2 separate regions of the Homo sapiens genome follow, and region 2 is linked to region 1. Evidence: promoter capture Hi-C in 16 types of primary human blood cells and fetal thymus (Javierre and others, 2016). All regions are on one chromosome and are shown on one strand. Each heading gives the region's core, a stretch centred on a gene start or on the middle of the fragment in contact. The rest is flanking DNA. Distances are from core to core; before and after follow the strand shown.

Region 1 (6,903 bases), core at 3,069-5,568:
GGTTGAGGCGGAAGGATCACTTGTGGCCAAGAATTCAAGACCAACCTGACCAACATAGTGAGACCCCCATTTCTACAAAAAATGAAAGATAATAAATCAGCAGGTCATGGCGGTTTGTACAATAAATTACCAGGTTATGGTGGTGGATGCCTGTAGTCCTAGCTACTCAGAAGGTTGAGGCAGGAGGATCGTCTGAGCCTAGGAGTTTGTGGTAGCCTGGGCAACAGAGCAAGGACTATCTCTTTAAAAATAATAATAAAAAAAAAAAACTGGATGTCTGATAAAAGATCTACCAATAATCAATAATCTTTTAGTCCTAAATAAGTGTAAGTATATACATTTATATATGAATGAAAAGTTTATAACAATGTATTTTTAAAGTATCACTTGAAAGCGTATGCTATTTTTATGGCATCATCTATATCTTACTGACTGAGAAAACAAATTTCTGCTCATATTCAATGGATATTTTAATGGACTAATTGCGATCCTGAAATCTGCTTATGTAAATTTAACAGTTAAAATTTGGCTTTACACAAAAAAGAATGAAATCATATCCTTTGCAACAACATGGATGCAGCTGGAGGCCATTATTCTTAGTGAATTAACACAGAAACAGAAAACCAAATACCGCATGTTCTCACTTATGACGGGGAGCTAAACACTGGGTACACATGGACTGTTATGAATTAATGTGACCCCCAAATTAGACACTGATGACCCCAAAATGGGGAAGGGTGGGAGGAGGGCAAGGGTTGAAAAACTACCTATAGGACACTATGCTCATTATTTGGGTGACAGGATCAATAGAAGCCCAATCCTCAGCATCACATAATATACTTATGTAAGAAACCTGCACATGTACCCCCTAAATCTAATTTTGTTAAAATTGGCTTTAAGTGACAGTCTAGCAAAAAATATCCAATAACATTTTTGTTTTCCAAGCTTTCTTTTTCAATTATACAGTTTAAGTGCTTAAAAAATTACTGAGCTTTATCAAAGAATTACTAGCCCCAATCTCCTACTTTAAAAATTTATTTAAATAAAATGCATCACAATAAACATAATAAAAAGTACTTTTTCAGCACTATTTTAATTGAATGCAACAAATTCTGAGGGCCTTCTATGAACCAGAAACTGTCCTTCGCATTCAGTGTACAAAAACAAGACACAGTCTCTGTTCTCCAGAAGCTTAAAGACCAGAGGGGGAATAAACACCTACATCAATAAATAATTTCAACACAATGTGGTAGAAGTATACACAGAAAGGAGAGGCCCTTAGCTGAGGTGAAGGAACATGAGAGACTGGGTAGGGGTGATCACCAGAAGGCACTAGGAGGAGGTCATCAGAAGAAGGTCATCAGAGAGCCTTCATGGCGATGATGCCTGAGCAGAGTCTTGAAAGATGAGTAGGCATAAGCAAGTAGAGAATGGGTGAACATAATAGCAAAGACATGGAAGCATGAAATAGCATACTGGATTAAAGGAAGTACAAACAGGAATTTTGAAAAATTATGTTCTACCAGGACGCCACGGCCTTTCTGTGGCTTTTGTTTCTTAAAACCTTCGCATTTCATCCTCCATACGCTCACAATGGAGGGCAAACAGATTCCATCATCTACAGGCTTTATCTCTGTTAATCTCAGCCATCCAGAACATGGAAAGGGACCTGAAACAAAACCCTACTACCACAAAATCTATGTGGTAAGAAATATAAGCTGACATCAAGAAGGAGACAAAAATTGTACAATATCCTAGGTATGTTTGGTGTAGGGGCATTCAGCTCAAAACCCCTGTGAGAATATATTATGGAATAATATATGATCTGATGGTGAGAACAGTAACTCAGAGTTGCCGAGATAAACTTATCTCTTATGTACCTTGCTTATAAAGCAGGGAGCTGTGTAATAAATATACTTAGAAAAATCTTTACTCAATATTGTTAAAAATAAAAATGTTTTACATTAAATAAGAAGTCTGCCATTACCTGTGAAATTCATGTTTGTGAACCACCTCATTTCCCGACCATAACAGACAGAAGAGATGTTATAGTACAAATAATAAAATTTAGTGATTCATAAACAGTCTTTGGGTAGAAAATATTTAAGGTCACAGATTGTGAGAAAATTAAAAAGTTATAGCTTCTGATTTTAGTATATTCATTAAATCTTCATTTCTACAAGATTTCTATTTCAAAAGCTTATTCATCTGACATCTTCATACATAGAAAGTCTCAATAAATTAATTAAAAGATAAATGAATTTGTTAAATGACTTTATATGCTGAAGGAATGATATACAGTATTGCATTGTACAATAAACTGTTATGAATCAATGTGACCCCCAAATTGGGCAGAAAATAAAGGTATTCCATGAAGTATTCTACTTTCTTACATTGCCAAGAGAGGTATACACTATAGACCAAATCTCTAATCTAGACTGAGATCAAAACCACAAGATGATATAAAAATTTTTTAAATATCAAAAACATGGGCCAGATTAGTCTATTTTGGGTAGCTATAATGAACCAGATATTTTACCACATCAAATACTCTATACGCAAGGACCTGACATTAAAATAGCCAAATTCATATAATTAACCTCTTTTTAAAATTTAAATGTTAAAGTTTTTTCATTAAGCATAATCTATACTATCTATCTCCATGGACCTATAGATTTAATCTAATCATGTAAACACAACTTTAAAAAGTTATTGATCTACATTCTCTTTCCATTTATAGTCTACACACTCTAAATTAAATTCTACACAAGTTTTCATTCTTTTCTTCTTAAGGGAGTCTTCAGGCTTATTAAACATCTGTGTTAGTACACCAATAACCTAAGATATGCTATTTAGTTTCTTTATTGCACATTAAATAAATGAATTTGGAAGTATTAACATTTATAGAGAAATACTCCAGTTTCTATGGATTTACATGATTCTGTACATTATCCTTGATACGTGGTATGGTTACGGCTAGGAAAAATAGTGTTGGAGTACTGATTTATAATTTCATAAAAACAAATTAATCATTTGTAATAATTAAAGCATATGAGCTTTTCAAAAATTATTTTTCCCATAGTATACAACAGCCCAACTTTTTTTCCTTGTTATTGGCCAATAAAACCTTTGTTAAAAATTACACTTCAATAAACCATTATTTAAATGTTAAAAATGCAAAATTTTTAAAGTTTTCAAGCCCTAATTAAAAAAATTAAAAGCATAAAGTTTTTGATATTTTAACAACTTTATATACTCTAGAAATAAAGCTGCCAAAGATCAGTTCATTGTTAATTAGAGATTCTTCCATTATTATGAAGAAAATACCCACGATCTTCATATTTATCAAAGTAACATTTTAGTTAGGTGTCAATATCTCATTTTTAATAGAATGAAATTCTGAATTTCTTAATCCCACCATCCCCCCCCGAGTTGAGATGCATTTGCCATTTTCAAGGTTTTAGAAACACTTGTTGAAAAGACCATTGAAGAGTTTACAGTAGCAGTGTGAAATTTTAGGTATCCCAAGGAAGTACAGAATGAAAAATGTTTGAGAAGCAAGGATAGTGTTACGACTTTCAAAATTAATTCATATGAAACTCCTAATGTGAACCTGATTTTTTGCGCTGGGTAAAGAAGACTCATTAGAAGATCGAGTTCCAAGGGAACTGCAAATGCCAACCGCTTTAAAATGTACCTTTCCCATATGACACCATTTACCCTTGGAAGAAAACAAGTTACTCAGATTAGTCTAATTCCAATAAACACTGAGGCCATGAAGGAAAAAATATCCAAAAGGGTTGATTATTCCACCCCAGATTTGCAGCCATTTCAGGGACACCCCTTAAGTGCTCTTCCTCTGCAGATGTAGGGTAGACCCCCCATGTCTGACAACTCTTTAGAAATAAAATTGCGAAGAAGTTATCACTTTCCAAAGGGCGGGGGAAGGACAAGTGAGAGACGTTAAGAGAACCGACGCGCTTTGTCCTCTGAAATACCTCATATTTACTTTTGACAAAAGAAGTAAATAGAAGCAAAACTGAGATTCAGAAGAAACTCTTTCTACTGCTTGCACAGGTTAAGTTTCTCAAAGACCCCGGAGAAAAGAAGCGGGCTGGAGGCTCACCTTCCATGTCGCTGCCGGGCCGGGCTGGAGCTGCCGCTGTGGCTACTCGGCCTCTCCACGTGCTCCTGCCGTCGCCTGGACTCAGCGCGCAGCTGGCGGGAGATTCCCGGCGCGGGGAGTCCCCGGGATCCGGCAGCCGCGTCGGCGCAGACTGAAAAGGGCAGGAGCCGGCGACCTGCCGGTGCGCGGGGTTACAGCGGCGCTGGCTGGCGGCGGCTTTAAAGGACGCTGGCCGCGGAGTGCCGCGGGTTCCGCGCCTCCAGCCCCCTTTCGAATGTCAAACCCAAGGAACCCCGACAGGATGGAAATGTCGCATCACTAAATTGTCTCAAAATGTCTATTTTAGAAGGATAATGGATGAGAAAAGTGACATCACACGGAGGGTCGGGGGTCAGCCTTGCTTTCTTGGCAAGCTGAAGTTCAAAGACGTTTATCTTAAATTGAGGAAGATCTGGAACTTTTTGTCTAGATTCAGTGATAACAGCCGTGGAAAGTATCAATGAGAACCCCCTTCTTTCAAAGTATTTTTTTTTCCTTCCTCACTTTTTCATTTCACATGGTAAAAGTTTTTGGTCCAAGTTTTCAGACAGTTGGAAAGGATTTTGGCACTTCTATCAATTCAACTTTTTAATTTTTGGAAGCATTTATCTCACTTTTGTTTTCCCTCTGGGAACTGCTTGATTTATTTGCCACCACTCACGCAATACTACCCACTCTATATAAATAGAGGGAGTGTTTTATAGAGTGTGTTTATTTTCTCCCAGCCTGCCTTCTTCTAAATACACACCTTACAAAAATACATATATGATGTACCAGAAAATTAAGCAAAGAAAGTAGAGCTAAGGGTGGAAGGTGGGGGCAGTAAGATTGTAAAATTAACTTAAAGATGTTAGTATACAGATATGTATCAGTCAACATCTTCTCCCAACACCCTCCCTACTGTCCAGAGGTAAAGCACACATTTGACTGCAGAGAGAGGAAAGGGGAAGTGACCACAAAACTGTTTTTCAAAGCAGAACTTTTCTTCACATTGAGGTCTAAGGGACATTGTTCAGGTGAGCCCTTCTAAAGATATCCAGCGTGTGGGACAATATACGAATGAGTCTCAAAAGGCCACTGTCACCGCTATTAGAAAATTATATTAGTGCATACAAATATATTTGAGACTTAAGGCTGAGGGTTTGTGCATCAGCTGTCCATATCAGAAGAAACCCACACTTACAAGTTAAAGTATACATGCTGTAATTTTATGAATTGTAGCTTTAAACAATAGTATGTCGTTGGTATAGGCAGTCTATGTGATGTGTGTATATATATTCAAGTGGGTGAAAAACTACACTGGCTTTAAGCACCACAGTAGCATCTCTATAACTGTATGAGTTGGGAGTTCTGCAGGATGTCAATTTTGGAGAAATACTCTAAACACTAGGTCTAATTTTAGTACTGAAAGGGGAAATTTGTTGTTTGTTAGTTTCTAAAAGCAAAAATAGCACATCAAAAGTAGCAGAAGAGGAACTGTAAAATTTCACAGGGATGGTATGAGGATGAAAAGTTATTTGGTTATGAAAAAGTTGTAGGCCAGGCGCAGTGGCTCACGCCTGTAATCCCAGCACTTTGGGAGGCCAAGGCAGGTGGATCACGAGGTCAGGAGTTCGAGACCAGCCTGGCCAACATGGCAAAATACTGTCTCTACTAAAAATACAAAAATTAGCTGGGCGTGGTGGCGCATGCCTCTAATCCTAGCTACTCAGGAGGCTGAGGCAGGAGAATCGCTTGAACCCAGCAGGCAGAGGTTGCAGTGAGCCGAGATCTTGCCACTGAACTCCAGCCTGGGCAACAGAGTGAGACTTCGTCTCAAAAAAAAAAAAAAAAAGTTGTAAGGAAACTTTATGATTTTCCATTACAATGTTCTTCTGTATATTTGACAGTGGAACGTGTTAGTACTCTGTAAATAGTTCAATACTGAGTATTTCGGACTCCCGAGAGTGATACCTAAGGGGATTAAAAGTGAATTGGTAAAATAACTTATGTAGCTACTCCACCTTCAAGGAGATGCAGCATAAATCCCCACTCTTTAAGTGTGGGTGCACAAAGTGACTTCCTTCCGAAGAGTATAGTATGAAAGCAGGGGAATAAGTTGACAGTGGAGAAACCTGACAAACAGTACCTCAGCCAGCAGACCAAGGTTAACATCAAGTGATAAGGCATGTTGATAGTATGTCCCCTTGATATGATGTGATGAGAATGTCATTTTATCTCTGTAATCTTCCTCCTAAGAATCCATAATTCTAGTCTAATATGGAGAAAGACACCAAATTCCAGTAGAGAGGCATTCTACAAAATACCTCACCAATTAAAGCCAGGTCAAGACCTTCAAACACAAGAAAAGTCTGACACAGCCAAGGGGAATCTAAGGAGATACGATGACTATAGGTAATGTGGGATCCCGCATGAGATCCTGGAGCAAAAAAACAAACGAGGTAGGGAGGACATTGAGTAAAAAACTAAGGAAATCTGAATAAAGTTTGGACTTCAGTTAATAGTAATATATCAATATCCGTTCATTAATTGTAAGAAATGTACCATACCAATGTAAGATGTCAATAATAGGGAAAATCGGGAGGGAGTATGTAAAAACTCTCTGTACTGTTTTTGCAAATTTTCTGCAAATCTAAAACTCTTCTAAAATAAAAAGTTTATATAAAAAGAGTGGATGGGTACTTTTGACAACTATTACTCATTTGGTTAAGTCTCCTCTCATAGGATTTAGTTTATCA
Region 2 (7,238 bases), core at 1,523-4,022, 52 kb before region 1:
TTTCCTAATTCTAAGCCTGAATACTATGTCAACCTATTGCTAGACTGCTGATTAGATCCTGGAAGAAACCGCAAGACACAACTGTCAGGGGCAGATGATGTCTATTCTTTTAAAAACTGTTTTCCACATTTCCATTCAGCATTTTTCTATGGATGAAGCACCTGTAATTTTCTCCATCAAAATTAAGAAAAGAAAAGGCCTCTGAATAAGCAAGGAATAAAATTAAAAGATTGACATAGATTTCAGGATGATGATGAAGAAAGGGAGATTGAATCTTTCATTATTTTTCATAATTAGTATTATTTTATATACAAACAACTGAACCAAAATTGTTTATGTTGGAAGCAATTCCACATGCCAGTGCATATGAAACTATTATGAAAACAGCAAAGTCAAGTTTCTTAAGACTTTACATGCTTTGGTCAGATCTTTTTAATCTTTTTTAGGTTGTGAACATCTTTGAGAACTGTACTCTTTGCCCAGAAAAAGGTACACATGCCCATAAACACGAAATTTCACATACTATTGATTGATTTCTCAAACCCTGAGATCTCAGGTTGAGAATCTCTGCCTCAGGCCTTTAAATAGGCTCAGGCTTAAAGACACCTCTGTGTTATATTTTGTAAACTTCATATAATAGTGGTTGGCATTTTTCAAATTTTTTGCTCAAGCATCCTCAAAAGAATTTTGAAAAATTATATATCTCTCTTATACATAGTGGACATTAAGTACATACTAAGTTGACATCTATAATTTTTCATCATGAGTTTAACTATTTTTAAACAAAAGAATACAGTTTGTGTATTGTAAATAATGATAGTTTAAACCATTACCACACCCTTTCAAATGTATCTACTTAGGAATATATACATATTTGTGATTTAATTTACTCCATCATGAATTTAAAAATACATAAGTAAGCTTTTCAAGAAAGTCAGGAAATTTCTCTTTGAACTTCTATTTCCATTTCACTACCCCCATGGAATTTTCTCCTAATGTAGTACTCTTGTATGCTTGAGTCATCTATTGTTCATCCCATTATATGTATCTGCAGCAAAAAAAAAAAAAAAAACCCAATAAAATATAGTTACTTTTGTTAACATGAAGTGCTATGTGTCAAAATGTGTTTTCTTCTGGATTGAATTAGCATTACAATTATTAACATACAATTGAGTAAAACAATATAGGTATATTATAATTTGATCAATAATTACCAAATACAAAAAGTAAAATTTATTGGGACTGTATCTCCTAATGAGAAGGATAGAGAGGAAATAAGTTATGAAAATTTGATAAAAGAAATTATCTAATTGATCCTTTGTTTGGCATCTTGGAAGTACTTACACCTTAGAGGTGGGTGAGAAATGTTCTTTTCTTTTATAAAGTGGAGAAGGAAGGCTGGGCATGGTGGCTTATGCCTGTAATCTCAGCAATTTGGGAGACCAAGGCGAGAAGATCACTTGAGTCTAGGAGTTCAAGACCAGCCTGGGCAACACAGTGAGACCCCTCTACAAAAAGTTAAAAAATTAGCAGGGCATGGTGGTGGGTGCCTGTAGACCTAGTTACTCAGGAGGTTGAGGTGGAAGTATTGCTTGAGCCCACGAGGTCAAGGCTACAGTGAACTGTGATTACACCACTGCACTCCAGCCTGGACAGCAGAGCAAGACCCTGTCTGAAAGAAAGAAAGAAAGAGAGGGAGAGAAAGAAAAAGAGGGAGAAAGGGAGGAAATAAAAAAAGAGAAAGAGAAAGAGAGAAGGAAAGAAAGAAAGAAAGAAAGAAAGGGAAAGAAAGACAGAAAGGGAAAGAAAGAAGGAAGGAAGGAAGGAAGAAAGGACGGAAGGAAGAAAGGAAGGAAGAAAAGGAAGGAAGGAAAGGAAGGAAGGAAGAAAGAAAGAAAGGAAGAAAGAAAAGAAAAAGCAAGCAAGCTCAATGGCAGCAGTCTTCTAGGCAGATCAGTTTTAGGAAGAAGGGCAGAGAATATACTGAAGTTGCGGACCTGGAAATTGATTCTCTTAAAATTATCCCATGCAATCCTTGGAAAGTTTTCCCAGCATTTCAAGAACACTACTAAAATAAAAGACCCCAATGCCAAAATGTACTCACATGCTGTTCTTCACTTTAGTTAATGAACCAATAATTATTTAGTGAGCACTTGTGAACACTGCAGGGGATAAATGGATGAATGGATGGTTGGATGGAAAGGCAGAAAGAAAAATGGATAAACACTGAGCATTTACTATATTCCCAGAACTTTGGCACAAAAGAACACAACTATAAAAGACTGTTCTTGCCATGTCTTTGGGACACAATCAAGTACAATAACACCCTGCCACAATACAATGTGTACAAATTTGGATGTAAAAGGATTGCTGATTGCCTCCAGTTGTCTACCCTTGCCCACTTCTCAGACAAGAGCAAGCTAAAGTTCTTATGGGAATGGATAGGAAGTAATTGCTTCAAGATCATTTGGGTCTTTTAAGGTTTACAATTGTGTCCAGTTTAAACTTCACTGTCATTGCTTTGTGCTTTTTGTAACAGTATATTAAAAACAAAACAAAACACAAAACCACCTACTATATTTCATTTACTTGCAATAATATGACCCCCATATTTTACAAGATAAAATTTCGGGATCCCATCTACTATGTTGTGGAGAGAGCTCATGTACTCTTCTTGTCTCCGACACTATTCTCTTTCATGCAAACTACAACACAAAAACAAAAACAAAACAGAACACCCAAAACCCAAAATCCCTTTGGGCTGACAAATTACAAAAAATTTGATAGTTCTGATGAGCCAGGACAGGATTTTGTTCAGTCTTCAGTCCAGTGGTGTTCTGGTAATTGCTTAACAACCAGCTCAGGATCGGGGAAGGGCTTATTTGTGGCATTTGCTGATTTCAGTGGTATAAATACTCCACCATGGCCAATTTCAAGCTACCATCATGGAGTCAGCCAGCATACAAAATTGTTGAAAATTTAACAAGCAGCTATGAGCTGATTCTGGCACACCACTGGGACTCCTCATTTATCCCTCAGCAGGGTACCTTCCTCTAGCTATCAAATGGCACCAAGGTACACAATGGCTCGGGTCACCGTGCCTGGTGCCAAAGTTTATTTGAGAAGCAGAACTCACTTGGCAAGAAAAGCTGCTATGAAAGTTAGCAGGCACATAAGGGTGTTTCATGCGTTCTCTTAATCCAGCTGGAAGGAGGCACCAACACTACTGCTTAACAGACAAAGAATGCAAAAAGAGGCAGGGCGAAGTGGCTCACGCCTGTAATCCCAGAACTTTGGGAGGCCGAGGTGGGCAAATCACGAGGTCAGGAGATCAAGACCATCTTGGCTAACACGGTGAAACCCCGTGTCTACTAAAAATACAAAAATAAAATTAGCCGGGTGTGGTGGCGGGCGCCTGTAGTCCCAGCTACTTTAGAGGCTGAGGTGGAAGAATGGCGTGAACCCGGGAGGTGGAGCTTGCAGGGAGCCCAGTTCGCACCACTGCACTCCAGCCTGGGCGACAGGGCAAGACTCCATCTCAAAAAATAAATAAATAAATAAATAAATAAATAAATAAAAAGAATGCAAAAAGAAGGGAGAAAACTCTCCAGAGGATCCACTAAGGACAGTGGGCAGCCCCATTTTTCTGTTAACCATTGCAACTGTCTGTGGCTCTTTGGCAGATGTCAAATATCTTCCTACACATTCCTTTTAGTTTGCTGTGCTACGCAGCTTAGTTATGAAAAAAAAAAAAAAGAAGAAAAGAAAATCCAGAGATGTTTTCTGTTAAAAAGTTTCAAGGGCCAGGCACAGTGGCTCACACCTGTAATCCCAGCACTTTGGGAAGCCAAGGCAGGAGGATTGATTGAGTCCAAAAGTTTGAGACTAGCCTGGGCAACATAGCGAGACCCCGTATCTACAGAAAAAAAAAAATTAGCCATGCATGGTGGCATGCAACTGTAGTCACAGCTACTCTGGAGTCTCGGGTGGGAGGATCACTTGAGCCTGGGAGGTTGGGGCTGCAGTGAGCCGAGATCGTGCCACTGCACTCCAGCCTGGGTGACAGCGTGATTAAAAAAAAAAAAAGATTCAGGGAGAGATGTCTTGGTTTTATCATCAACAGAACTTACCCGTTTGACACAGTACAAGCTGTAAAGCTCTGCCCATGGTAAGCACTTACAGAAATCCCCTGTGAGTGAACTTCTGCAGCACAGCACTGCTGATTTTGTAAGATAACCCCTGCATCCCATGAGTGACAGGTCTTGATCTGGGCTTGAGAGATGTAATATTTTGATAAAAAACGGCACTTCCTTTTGAAGCATATATTTGCGTGTACTAAGCAGTACCGCGGGAGCCTCAGCGAGTGCCTAAGCGAGGCTGACGCGGTCTCTCCCAGCTCGCTCCAGCCACCCTTCTTCACACATCTAAATGTGGCGGTAATTAGCATCCATAAACCACACATGTGGCTTAATTTTTTTTCCCCTTTCAGAAGCATCAAAGTAGTTTGTACTTCTTCTAAGCACCAAAGAGTTGTACACCTCAAAAGGGACCGAGACTATGCCATGGGAAGCTACTGAAGATGGGAGTTATTTCTCCTAAGGGGAAGAAGAATTATTTTTTTCAGCAAGCTTTCTAATTAAAGTTCTTATCTTTGATCTAAGCATCTACACTGCACAAGATGTCACAATGGAGAAAATATAAGGCCTTTCAAAAGTGATCAAATTCAACTTTTCTCTTGGAATCAGGCAAGACCCATAGCTTGTACAGAATGGAAGTAATTAAATACATACACCGATTGATCACCACTGCACAATTAATTAAAAAAGAAATCTATTTCATGATGGGTATTGGGTCTATTTGATATTTAGTTACAGAGCCAGGAGATGAAGGGTGTACTGTGTTGAATAGTGTCCCTCCTAAATTCATGTCCTCCTGGAACCTCAGAATGTGACTTTATTTGGAAATATCGTCATAGTAGATGTAATTAGTTAAGATGAGGTCACACTGGATTAGGGTAGGCCCTAAATCCAATGACTAGTCTCCCTAGAGGAGGACAGAAACAGGAGATGCCCACAGAGATGAAGCCCACGTGACAATGGAGGCAGAGATTAGAGTTATGCTGCCATGACCAAGGAACACCAGGCATTGCTGGAAGTCACCAGAAGCCAGAAAGAGGCAAAAAAGAACTCTTCCCTAGGCCCTTCCCATGGTCCTGCTGACATCTTAATTTTGAACTTCTACCCTCCAGAATAGTAAAAAATTTCTGTTGCTTTGTGACAAACTGGTGTTTTGTCACCCAGTTTGTGGTAATTTATTATGGAAGCCCTGGAAAACTAAGACAGAGGGTAAATGTGCAACTCAGGCAGGGTAAACAGCTAGTGTTGATGGGTATCGAGGTATCGTGTGTACTTTTTACCCCTACAGCAGCTCCAGAACAAATGGCTTGTGTAAATAGAGATAGTGGATGATGGGGGCTGCTGAAAAATAGGGGGCCAGTAGAGTGTTAAATACAGGGGGTCAGTAGCCCAACTTTTATTCCTCAGCTATTCAAAGAGGAAAAAATACTATCGGCAAATGCATCATACCCTCATAACATATACATGCTCATGACAGAACCTTTCCTTCTATTTTCTAAGTGGGAAATGGCAAAGACGGGAATCCAATTTCAGAGGAAGAAGGACTGAAACAAAAAGTCGCAAGAGTTCTATTTCAGTCGTTCAGGCCTTAAGGCCATGTCTTTTCCACTAATTTAAGCACCTAATTACATTCTCTCTGAAATTGTTTGTGCATGACAATTGCCTTGCTGGGATGACATTCCACCATCTCGAGTCTTATCTCTACCTAGTTAATATCCCTCAGTACACTAGCATGAAACACATCTTCCCTCTAGCCTTGATACTCAGAGGTTTTTATTTTTTAGTTGCTCTGTGATCATAGGCCAAGATATAAGCAACAATAATATTCTTTCTCATGATATTTTATAAAATTGTTTTAACTCTTGCTTTTGACATCACAGTATCTTGCTGACATTTTAGATCCAAGTAGAAGGTCCCAAATCTTTTGTATTCAGTAAAGTGGCTGTGATATTCCCAGCACTCATTGGATGCTAAACAAAAATAAAGACTTGGGGATCTCTGGGTTATTTCCTATGGCTCAAGATCAGTCTGAAGATAGTTACAGTTGGTCACTAAGAGGAAGAGAAATAATAATTGTTCATAAGAGTGAATGAGCAGGCTAGAAAAAGAACTCTGAATTTCTTCATTTCTTCTGCTTTCCAAACTGGTTGGATTATATCACTTCATAGGTAAGTATTCTTAGAAAGATGTAAATATAGGTTAGGGCTTCTTTTTTCAAAAAGTTTATGATATAATGGGGTGAAACCTTGTCATGCACAAACAATTTCGAACAGAATATAATTACGTGTTTAAATAAGTACTAACTAAACATACTCTTAAAAATTCAGCTCTGAGACCACACTGTGGAAGGTGGGATAGTATAAAAAGGCCTCCTGGAGGAAATAAACTTGAGTTGATGTAAATATTTGCCAGTGCTTGTTAGATTTAAATTTTCAGGAATAAAGGAGAAAACCAACTAAATGGTAACACAACATTTAGTCTACATATGGTTTTATTTATGTCTAATTAATTTATGTAAATAGAGCTATATCAACTATACATGCATGTGATAAAAAGCTGTTAGTGATATATATTTTTCTGATTTTTAAAATAATAGTATTAGAATCCTCACTGATGCCCTTTTGAAATGGTTACACAAACACTGTTCCTTTCAAGTGCCAAATCTTTTCTTAACTCATCATACAATAAATGTATACACTAGGTTAGGAGTAAGGGAATTATGGCCTGCAGGTCAAATCCAACCCACTGCCTATTTTTGTAAATAAAGTTTTATTGGTACAAAGCCACTCACATTCATTTATGTATCTTCTACAGTTGTCTTACCTTGCAATGGCAGAGTTGAGAAGATGCAACAGAGATTGTATAGCCCACAAAGCCTAAGATATTTACTATCTGGTCCTTTACAGAAAAAGTTTGCCAATACCTGCACTAGGCTCCTGGGAATATACTGTAAAAAATTACCACAATGTCTGTGGGATCACAAGCAAGCGTATTTATGTTCAAAGTTAATACTTTTGTTTGTTTTGTTTTTGTTTTTTTGAGACAGAGTCTCACTCCGTCGCCCAGGCTTGAGCACGATCTCAGCTCATTGCTGGAACCTCT

Evidence for each region. Contacts are between HindIII fragments. The CHiCAGO score rates a contact against its expected background, and 5 or more counts as called.
Region 2: a fragment that was not itself captured here is called in contact with the fragment with the promoter of IKZF3 in region 1 in 1 of 17 cell types (total CD8 T cells); the score reaches 5.1 in total CD8 T cells.

Annotation. Positions count from the first base shown.
Region 1 is chr17:39,859,994-39,866,896 of GRCh38, forward strand. It overlaps IKZF3 (IKAROS family zinc finger 3), which reads right to left and starts at 4,319. Exons shown (of 8, transcript NM_012481.5): 1 at 4,127-4,319. The coding sequence starts at 4,133. RefSeq lists enhancers at 1,423-1,582, 3,941-4,060, 4,071-4,160, 4,888-4,957, 5,018-5,077. The HindIII fragment of the contact is 8,560 bases long and covers 2,198-6,903 here.
Region 2 is chr17:39,809,562-39,816,799 of GRCh38, forward strand. The region is part of intron 3 of IKZF3 (IKAROS family zinc finger 3); the gene reads right to left. Among named protein-coding and RNA genes, the nearest start is that of IKZF3, 51 kb to the right of the region's middle. The HindIII fragment of the contact is 3,707 bases long and covers 920-4,626 here.